Regions from separate parts of the Homo sapiens genome. Here all the other regions are linked to region 1. Evidence: promoter capture Hi-C in 16 types of primary human blood cells and fetal thymus (Javierre and others, 2016). All regions are on one chromosome and are shown on one strand. The core of a region is centred on a gene start or on the middle of the fragment in contact, and the rest is flanking DNA. Distances in the headings are between cores, read along the strand shown. Region 1 holds the start of RIMOC1 (RAB7A interacting MON1-CCZ1 complex subunit 1). Region 2 holds the start of CARD6 (caspase recruitment domain family member 6). Region 3 overlaps LOC105374745 (a long non-coding RNA gene). Region 4 has its middle 87 kb from the start of FLJ32255.

Evidence for each region. The method cuts DNA at HindIII sites, captures the fragments that hold promoters and counts their contacts. A CHiCAGO score of 5 or more calls a contact.
Region 2: a contact is called between a fragment that was not itself captured here and the fragment with the promoter of RIMOC1 in region 1, in 1 of 17 cell types (erythroblasts). The highest score is 6.2, in erythroblasts.
Region 3: a fragment that was not itself captured here is called in contact with the fragment with the promoter of RIMOC1 in region 1 in 2 of 17 cell types (erythroblasts and neutrophils); the score reaches 6.1 in erythroblasts.
Region 4: a fragment that was not itself captured here is called in contact with the fragment with the promoter of RIMOC1 in region 1 in 9 of 17 cell types (neutrophils, M2 macrophages, M0 macrophages and 6 more); the score reaches 10.4 in neutrophils.

What each region holds. Positions count from the first base shown.
Region 1 is chr5:41,903,055-41,905,609 of GRCh38, reverse strand. It overlaps RIMOC1 (RAB7A interacting MON1-CCZ1 complex subunit 1), which reads right to left and starts at 1,266. Exons shown (of 6, transcript NM_175921.6): 1 at 1,143-1,266. The coding sequence starts at 1,242. RefSeq lists enhancers at 1,164-1,283, 1,036-1,582, 1,694-1,833. The HindIII fragment of the contact is 10,560 bases long and covers 1-2,555 here.
Region 2 is chr5:40,840,895-40,843,449 of GRCh38, reverse strand. CARD6 (caspase recruitment domain family member 6) reads right to left here and starts at 2,083. Exons shown (of 3, transcript NM_032587.4): 1 at 1,785-2,083; 2 at 1-298. The coding sequence starts at 2,067. The HindIII fragment of the contact is 1,795 bases long and covers 377-2,171 here.
Region 3 is chr5:42,955,330-42,957,884 of GRCh38, reverse strand. It overlaps LOC105374745 (a long non-coding RNA gene), which reads right to left. Exons shown (of 3, transcript XR_925964.3): 1 at 1-2,555. Among named protein-coding and RNA genes, the nearest start is that of FLJ32255, 37 kb to the left of the region's middle. The HindIII fragment of the contact is 5,385 bases long and covers 1-2,555 here.
Region 4 is chr5:42,904,849-42,907,403 of GRCh38, reverse strand. No RefSeq gene overlaps it. Among named protein-coding and RNA genes, the nearest start is that of FLJ32255, 87 kb to the left of the region's middle. The HindIII fragment of the contact is 1,015 bases long and covers 771-1,785 here.

The sequences.
Region 1 (2,555 bases), core at 17-2,516:
GCTTCAGGGTGGTCTGTAGGTCTTTAAAGAACACACTCCTGGCCTGGCACAGTGGCTCACGCCTGTAATCCCAGCACTTTGGGAAGCCAAAGCGGGTGGAATGCTTGAGCCCAGGAGTTCAGGACCAACCTGGATGACATGGTGAACCCCGTTTCTACAAAATATGCCAAAGTTAGCCGGGCGAGATGGTGTGCGCCTGTTGTCCCACTACTAGAGGGGCTCCAGCCTGAGCAACAGAATGATACTCTGCCTCTAAAAACAAAACAAAACAAAACACTCCTGATAAATGATAATCTGGCAAAAAATATTCACTGAAACTAAGGCATTTCATCATAGACCCTATTTAATAACAAATTCACCAACTATTCAATCGCTTAAGAAAATGTTCCACCACTGTTTTCCTATGAGTCCGATGATATGAGTCAGTCCACAGAATTTTAAAAACTATCTGTAGTAATTGCTCAAACTCAAAAAGGAATAATGTAGAACCTAAAGGCAGCTGAGACGTAATGAAAAGAATTGGACTTAAATTCAGAAGGTTGAGGCAATTCCCTAGCCCAGTTTTTCCTAACAGCTTAGACCTTTCCAAAACAAGTATGCCAATACTTAACAGAGCCCTTGTGAGAACTGGCATGATGTATGGGGCAGAATAGTCTACACACCAATGTAAAGCTCTTCTATAGAATGTTGTTTTGAATCCAAAACGTAAAACGCAAATTACAACGCAGCAATGAAAAAGTGGAACTGTTATACATGTCTTTTTATCTTTACAGGATGCAAACCACCATAACTAATTTGAGTGTTATCATTCATCTTAGCCATTTATTTAAACTTCTGTATTTTATTTAGATTCTGCCCTTCTTCCAATCGCTACCGAGACAGTTTACACCAGCACGGATCTAGACAGATTTTCCATGGGTTCTGAATAATGCGGTTTTCGAAGACAACGCCTTGGCATTGTGAGTTCTGGGAAGTGGGCAATCGATGGCGCAGAGGGGCTCAGAAGCGACAGACCTCGGGTAACCACCTGCGGCCTGGGACCCAAAGGAACACAGGCCTCAGCCTCTAGCCCTCACAGCCATCGAGCGCCAGTACCTTAGCGCCGTCTGCCCCGCCCGCCTCCCTCTCCTCCGCTCCCTCACCATCTTCACCGGCAGCTTCGCTAAGTTGCTGTATGTGGGCCTGAGCCAGATCCCCGAGCTCTTCCACTCGTCTCACCACACTAGAGACTGCGGCCGCCATGGCCACAATCGGCGGGTGCGCCCCGGTCACGTGACCGTGTTGGCCCGCAATCACCTGATCCCCCGGCACGGGCGGGGCCTAGGGCGGACCTCTCCTGGTTGGTGGGAGGAGACATCAGCTCCGGAAGAGGGCTGGCCCAGGCCGGCAAAGGTCTTTCCGGGTCATTTTTCCCTCCTGGACTTCCCTTCCCTCCCATAATCCTGAGCAGCAAGGAGACTAGGGGCGGGTGTGACGTTGAGACACGCCTCTCTCTAGCCCCCTCCTGTAAGCCAATAGGGAGCCAGCCGTGCCCCTCGGCTGACCCAATCGGAAGTCAGCTCTCTCCGCCTGCCTCTTGGAAGACAGCTTGGTGACGTCTGGCTGGCAGGATGCGGATTGTCGTCCGCACTCCCACTTCCCTGTCCGGCGCGGGAAGCACAGTCTGGAGGGCGGACGCGAGGGTCTGGAGAGAGGACTGTCAGTTTTGGCCTTGTAGTAAGGAGGTTGCTAAAATAAAGTGATTATAATCTCCTGGTCCTAAATGGAAACCCGACCGGCCCCCTGTGTAACACATCCAAGTCTCCAAGAGTTTGTTGTACATCTGGATGGGGAGCTCCAAACACTAGTGGAGTTGCCAGTCTACATGGTTGAATATTGCTTTTGTAAATCTGATTTTTAGCAGTCGAATTTATCTCTGACCTCCCTTGGAGTTCACATTTAAAGTACTTTAGACATCTTGCGTCCAGTGGTAGTAAATTCTGCGGCCACAAAACTATTTTCATTTTTCTTTCATCTCAAGACCTTCCCTTAAGGCGCTAATTGTGCATGAGGTTCATCCTCTCAATCGGGAGTTTCAAAGCACTCAGTCAGCAAGTCTAACTTCACTTTGCATTCTGTGAATGCTTTCTTGCCTCTGGTCAAACAAATCGTTAACTCTGTGTATTCATTTCTCAGTTTGACACACTATATCTTGAATAATCTCCATCCTATTGTTTCTCATGGAAGGTAGTTTTTTATATGTAATAGAAAAATACTAAAAATAGAGAAAAAGTGTATTGTGATTTATAAGTGATTGACCACAATGACTCTCTAACTGACCTTTGTAATACCAGTTTCTTCTGACAATTCACCCTAAATATAGAGGACAGGAATCATGTATTTTGTGTCCTTGGTGCCTCATACAGTGCCTGGCACATATGCACTCTTGTCAACAAGCAAGATGGCAAGGGGATATGATGTGGTCTGTGGGAGTAGACAATTATTCAATAGTGTGGGAATTGTAGGTGAGGAAAAAAAGAATCTAAGTATAAACAAGAAGTTGAGAGAAGGCTTTC
Region 2 (2,555 bases), core at 25-2,524, 1.1 Mb after region 1:
ATATATGTAATAGTTGCTGGAACTTCACATCCAACTTTCTCAACTGAATATGATAATGTGACTTCTGGTGTGTCATATTCCTTCTCATTCTTCCTGGCAGACAAAGCTGTTTCCCTATAACTAGTTTTCTTGTCCCTGAAAAACTCAGAGGTTTCCAAATCCAAGTGTTCCTTCTCACTGAAGAACACTGTGATCTCAGGGGCTTCAGGCTGTTTTATTCCAGGAGAAAAAGCATCTTCTGAATTACTGCTTGCCCCCATAGATTGAGGAGGTACTGTATTCTCATGTTTTAAAACTTCTGCAAAGAAAAGAATTGTTTTTCCCAATTAAGAAAAAGAAGCTGTATAACAGCTAGAGTTCCTGAGGCCTCAAAGCTTCATCCCTCTCCTTTTATTTATTTATTTATTTTTTGAGACAGAGTTTCACTCTTGTTGCCGAGGCTGGAGTGCAATGGCACGATCTGGGCTCACTGCAACCTCAACCTCCCGGGTTCAGGTGATTCCCCTGCCTCAGTCTCCCAAGTAGCTGGGATTACAGGCATGCGCCATGATGCCCAGCTAATTTTTGTATTTTTAGTAGAGACAGTGTTTCACTATGTTGGTCAGGCTGGTCTCAAACTCCTGACCTCAGGTGATCCATCTGCCCCGGCCTCCCAAAGTGCTGGGATTACAGGTGTGAGCCACAGCGCCCAGCCACCTCTTATTTCACTGGAGGACAGGAATACCTAACACCTCCTATATAACTTGCATGTCAACATGTCAACTTTCAGAACTTTCTTTTTTCCACTAAAAAAAAAAATCAGATCACACCACTGTCTTGCTTAAAGTTTGAGTCCTTCCTAGCAACCTTACAGGGTAAGTGAATAAAACGAAAAATTTGAATCATATGAACAGTGTTTACTTGTGGACTTACTGTGACTCACAACAGACTCACGTCTCTTGGGGTCATTGCTAATGAAATCTGATCACAAATAATTTCTAATCAGTAAGCAAATGGCTCTATTTGGAATAGTGTGCTTTAGAAATAATAAAAGAAAAATTTCTAAGCATATAAATCTTGTCCTAAATTAGGTATCACTAACATTCACCTTTTTATCTGAGCCTCTACCTCTCTAACATCCCTTAAAATAATTTTGAATTTTTTTTTAGATTCCTAGAAAAAGAGCTAGACCTAGTCCTAGTAGTAATTTACAGAATTGCTAAATAACTGGAAGAATTGCTTTTTCATGGACTACTAGTTATCTTTGAACCATTTAAGAATTAGCACTGGAATTGCTCCAGAAAACAGCTGCTGCTGGCATTCTTATCACCAAAAAAATGAAACTACTGATTTGCCATCTATGTGTTAAAAATTATTTTCCTTGTATTTTCAAAACGGCTATACTAAGTGAAAGATACAGCTTGTGGTCTTGGCACTGTAAATATCCACGAATTCATCTACTTGAAAAACAAACCCTGGATTGTGTTATTATTAAAGTATTTTCCTTCCAACTGTGAGATTTTAGCATGTTACTGCCAGAATAATGAGCAGTTTGTTAGCACTAAAACAACTTCAAGTTTTGAGTACAGTCTGAAAAACAAATTATCGATTCAGTAGACCAATAAGATGTTAAATTTCAGAAACTTTTTAAATTCCAGTTTTTCCCTATTTCATATTTCAATGAAAATTATCTCCAGAAAAAGACTAACAAAAATAAAAGGCAACAATTTTCTTTCATTTTGTTTTCTTTTTCAGAAAGTCTGCCCCCTTCCTCTCACCCCAAAAAGTATACAAAGTCAACTTACCATGCCTTAAGCCGCAAATGGCAGCTGACTGTGGAAAAGTACTAAATAAACACTTGAGAAAATGCTGACAGGTCGCCTCTCCCTTTTTCTGTACCAAAATTAACAGCTTCCGACTTTTCTTCAGGAGATCTGTAACATTCTCCAGAGTCTCATACTCTTCCTCAGAAATCAGCCTCCGAGAAGTTAACGTGTCTAAGATAGAATCAGGATCATGTTGAAGGATTTCAAGCAACTTTTTTCTTTCTCTTTCTATGATCTCTGAGGGAGTACTCTCGGTAGCCATTGTTCCTGTTTCCTCTAAACCAGGAAATATATTATGAAATCATCCTAATGAATAAGTAAAAGTTAAAAAAAGAATGACAAAGAACAATTCTATTTGGCTAAGCTTTAACATGTCAATGATGCCTAGTGTTGGAGAGTGCAGATACAAGCACAGTGGGGCAACCCAGCTCGGAGCACTCTCTGATCCGGGGTCCTTGTGGATTATTTATCTGCTCTTTTGAAGTCTTGATAAATTCTCACCATGACTCAGACCCAGGGTCACCTCCTCCAAGAAGTCGCTCTTGAACTTCAGGTTGGACTAGGTATTCCCTGCTCAGAGAACTATACTATGATGCCAAGAATGTAAATTATTAATTGATATTTGGTGGGCAATATGGCAATATACAGCAATAAATAAATAAAGTTGAAGACAGACAAAAATAAAACTTCATATCCTTCAACCCAGCAATTCCAGTTCTAGGAAATTATCTTAAGGAAATAATTGAGCAA
Region 3 (2,555 bases), core at 24-2,523, 1.1 Mb before region 1:
GAATTTGGTCAAGTAGACAGTAAATATCACTCTGTTCATTTTTCCTGTCCAAAATTTTGACTGATGGGAGAAAAGGATTTGTGTGACCAGTGCTGGTGTATTGACTATGGTGTACTTTCTGGTACTTTGTGGTAAGAATCATATTGTTTCATCCATTTCCTCCTAGAGTAGTCTTTTCTTTGTCTTTCTCTTTCTGTGTTGTTCTGTCATAAAGAGGTGTACAGGTTGAGGTTTTTCTCTCATCTCGTTTTGTTTTGTTTGAGATGGAGTCTTGCTCTGTTGCCCAGCCTGGAGTGGTTTGGTGCGATCTTGGCTCACTGCAACCTCTGCCTCCTGGGTTTAAACAATTCTCCCACCTCAGCCTCTCAAGTAGCTGAGATTACAGCTGCGTGCCACCACGCCTGGCTCATTTTGGTATTTTTAGTAGAAACGGGGTTTCACCATGTTGGCCAGGCTGGTCTCAAACTCCTGACCTCAAGTGATCTGCCCACCTTGGCCTCTCAATGTGCTGGGATTACAGGCGTGAGTGTTTTGTTTTGTTTTTTAAGAGATAGCGTCTTACTCTGTCACCCAGGCTAGAATGCAGTGGTGCAATCAGAGTTCACTGCAACTTCAAACTCCTGGGCTCAAGCCATCCTCCTGCCTTAGCCTCCCCAGCAGCTAAGACTACAGGCACATGCCACCATGCCCAGCTAATCTTTTAAAAATATTTTTATAGAGATGGGTCTCCCTACATGCCCAGGCTGCTCATGAACTCCTGGCCTCTCAAAGCACTAGGATTACAGGTGTGAGCCACCATGCCTGGCCTGAAATAATCAATACGCCAGAGGTATATTGATATATTGGCATACTGGGGTGGTGTATTCTGGTGTCTTACAGTCGCATTTTGAGGGAGTGTGTCCAGAATAATCAACTCAGAATTTAGGTTGCTATCTTGAACTGGAGTGTTAGGGAGAAGGGACACAGTAAAATCACACGTACCCCTATGTTAGAAGATGGGCCTTAAATTTACACTAAAAGTTGATTTAACACTGAATGGTAAAATTACATTTATCTATTCAGCCACAGGCAGAGCTGTACAAACTCATACTTCCCTAAGTGAGGGTGTGTATCTACAAAATGGAAATGAGAAGCAAGCCCAGTACAAAGCATGTGCTTGCCGCAGTTTTCAGTTGAGAATGAAATCAGATAAAGCACAAAATACAGTTGGCACAGTGTCTGTCACAAATAATGATTTTTGTGCCATGAACCACTCAATATGTGAGGAGAAGTAAAAGATGAGGCAAGAAGTGGAAAGTATTTATGATAAATTGAACCTTATAAAAAACCAGAGGAGTGAGGAATATGATTTTGCCACTTGCCCAACCATTTCAATGTATTGAACTACATTGTGAAAAAACAAATACAATCATATAGAAGTCAGGAGTTCAAGACCAGACTGGACAAAATGGCGAGACCCCCTCTCTACTAAAAATACAAAAAAATTGCTGAGCATTGTGGCTGGTGCCTGTAATCCCCGCTACTTGGGAGGCTGAGGCTGTAGCGGGAAGTCAGGGACCCCAAAAGGAGGGACCGGCCGAAGCCATGGCAGAAGAACGTGGATTGTGAAGATTTCATGGACGTTTATTAGTTCCCCAAATTAATACTTTTATAATTTCTTATGCCTATCTTTACTGCAATCTCTAAACATAAATTGTGAAGATTTCAAGGACACTTATCTCTTCTCCAATCAATGCCCTTGTGATTTCCTATGCCTGTCTTTACTTTAATCTCTTAATCCTGTCATCTCGTAAGCCGAGGAGAATGTATGTCGCCTCAGGACCCTGTGATAATTGCATTAACTCCACAAATTGTAGAGCATGTGTGTTTAAACAGTATGAAATCTGGGCACCTTGAAAAAAGAACAGTATAACAGCAATGTTTAGGAAACAAGAGAGATAACCTTAAACTCTGACCGCTGGGAAAAAGCCAGGCGGAACAGAGCCATATTTCTCTTCTTTCAAAAGCAAATGGAAGAAATATTGCTGAATTCTTTTTCTCAGCAAGGAACATCCCTGGGAAAGAGAATACGCACCTGAGGGTGGGTCTATAGATGCCCCCCTTGGGTGTGGCCGTCTTCTATGGTCGAGACTGTAGGGATGAAATAAACCCCAGTCTCCCATAGTGCTCCCAGGCTTATCAGGAAGGGGAAATTCCCGCCTAATAAATTTTGGTCAGACCAGTTGCTCTCAAAACCCTGTCTCCTGATAAGATGTTATCAATGACAATGGTGCCCAAAACTTCATTAGCAATTTGAATTTCACCCCGGTCCTGTGGTCCTGTGATCTCGCCCTGCCTCCATTTGCCTTGTGATATTCTATTACCTTGTGAAGTATGTGATCTTTGTGACCCACACCCTATTCGTACACTCCCTCCCCTTTCGAAAGTCCCTAATAAAAACTTGCTGGTTTTACAGCTTGTGGGGCATCACAGAACCTACTGACATGTGAGGTCTCCCCTAGACACCCAGCTTTAGAATTTCTCTCTTTTGTACTCTGTCCCTTTATTTCTCAAAC
Region 4 (2,555 bases), core at 29-2,528, 1.0 Mb before region 1:
TCTGAGTTAACAACCACAGGGTTCCAGAGCATCAACTCCAGATCAGACAATTCCAGGCAGCTACAGATGTCTGCCTTGGTGAGTCTTGCCCAGGATCTGGAAGTCCAAGATGAAAGCGCCAGTGATTCAGCTCCTGGTGAGGGCTGTCTTCCTGTCATGCCAATGGCCATGTTGTAGCTGTGTTCTCACATGGCACAGAAGGAGAGAGAGAAGTGGGTAGAGGGGCAAGAGAAGAAAGGGAGAGAAGGAGAGGGACCTGGTATCTCTTCCTCTTCTCATAAGGGCACTAATCCCATTATGAAACCCCAACCCTCATGACCTCATCTAAACTTAATTGTCTCCCAAAGGCCCCATCTCCAAATACCATCACTTGGAGATTAGTTAATCAAAATTATCATGAATTTTGGGGGAACACAATTCAGTGCAGAACACCAAGTGTATGGGAGGCTCTCATAATCTCTGCCCATCTCAGGTCCTGCAGCAACTAAGACTCATTCCTTCTTGTGGGCATCCCAGGAGAAAGATTTATGTGTCTTCACAACTTTAGTGTAAAGATTTGGTGTAAAGGTTTCCAGCCTTTACACCAAAATCCTTGGGCAGAGATGAAAAACATGCAGTAGAGAATACACTTGGGACTTTTACACTTTTCTGTCCCCTCAAATGTTAGAAATCAAAACCCATAAACTAGATGACAGCATTAATCTAGTCTAGCTGTGATTACATCAATCTTTTCACATAGTGGCAGTTCTAAGTATCAGTATAGAGAAGCTTAGATGTTGCATCTTATTGGAACGTGGAACTAGAGCTGTGTTTGCTTTGCACTCATTATTAGACTAATTACATGTCAATTATCCATGTCATAAAAAATAAGCAGATGGTGAAAGATGAGTTAGAGTGTTTTTGTGGTTTGGATATGGAGGGGGCTTCCCATCTTATCATCCTCATTTTCTGTTCTGAAGTCTCAAAATCTACTTAAAAAAAAATAAAACCACAATCCCAATCCTCTGATAACCCATTATTCCATTAACCAATTAACCGTTAATCCATAAATGGATTAAGACATCAAACGGGCAGAGCCCTCAAGACCCAATCACTGCTTAAAGGCCCTACCTCTCAATATTGCTACATTGGGGATTAAGTTTCAACATGAGTTTCAGAAGGGACAAATATTCAAACCACAACATCCCTGAATGGCAATTAATTGTAAAGAGAAATTAATTGTTATCTTAGATGACATGATCGTGATTTCAATTTGAAACCTTTTGAAGGTCTAGGGGATAAAGGGACTATGAATGCAGCCCTGGCTTTGGCTCCCTCAGGGTGGCCTCTGTGTGCAACACCCAGGTTAGATTATCTGCTAAGATTTCCTCTGGGCTGGCCAATCTGAAAGCAATATGGAATTGTGTAATCCAAGGGCTCCTGAACACAAGGGAAAAGGTGTTTCATCCAGTCTCACAGCAGGAGACATCAGCTTTTGAGTTTTTACACTTTTCTGGCCAAGTGCCTGGTCCTAATCAGATCATAGGAAGCATAGTGGTGATATTAATTCTAGAAGCAAATTGTAACAGAAGATGGAATTACTGGTATTAACATAAAACCCTAACATCTTAGACGAAACTCAATCTGTGATAGGGTGGTTTAAGTGATAAAAAGAAAAGGTACTCCTTAACCTGTGGAGGGAAAGCTCTTTTGAGGAACCCTGGTTAATAGTTTATTATTGCCCCAAACCACATTGCTAGTCCTGGAGCAGAGACTGCAATCTTGTTCTCCAGGCAGAGAAAAGCTTGAGGAGAGGTGTGTCCTCAAAGACAACTTGGGATGTTAGTGAGAAGCAGGGCAGTGGTAGTCACTCAATTCTTTCATTTCCTTCTTGTCTTTTATTTTCTATTTATTTTTATTGTGGTAAAATACATATAACAAAATTTACCATCTACCATGAATTCTGAGTCTATCTAGAAGTAAAGTTCCTTAGCATATTCTTGATTACACAAAGATAGTTTTTATAATTTGGAAATCTTTGAGGTACTTTGGAGAAGAAGAACTAAATAAGGAATGATCTCCATCATAGACTTCTTGCTCCTAGTACTTTGGAGAGGAAGAACTAAACAAGGAATGATCTCCAACATAGAAACTTCTTGCTCCTGTTGCCTCTATCTAGAAGGCAGAGTCCCAAGCAAGTTTACAATAACATCATGAGGGTCCCCACTGGGGTGTGAGGAGCTCCTTCCAGGGCATTGGTTGAAGGCAGTGGTGCTGTTGATGCAAGGATACCCCCAGAATTGGCATTCAGCCAGGGAAGCCAAGTGGATACTTTGCTTGTACCAGAAAGAATTCAAGAGCAAGCCAAAAGAGTAATGTGAAAGCAAGTGTATTAAGGAAACAAAAAGAAGGCTACCCCCGTAGTCAGGGTAGCACCAAGGGACAGGGCAGCTAGCTGGCTATTTTATGGCTATTTCTTGATTATATGCTAAATGAGGGGTCGACTATTTCTTTAGTTATCTGGGAAAGAGGCAGGAGCTTGTGGACCGGGGGTTTATCTACCTTACAGAAGATAC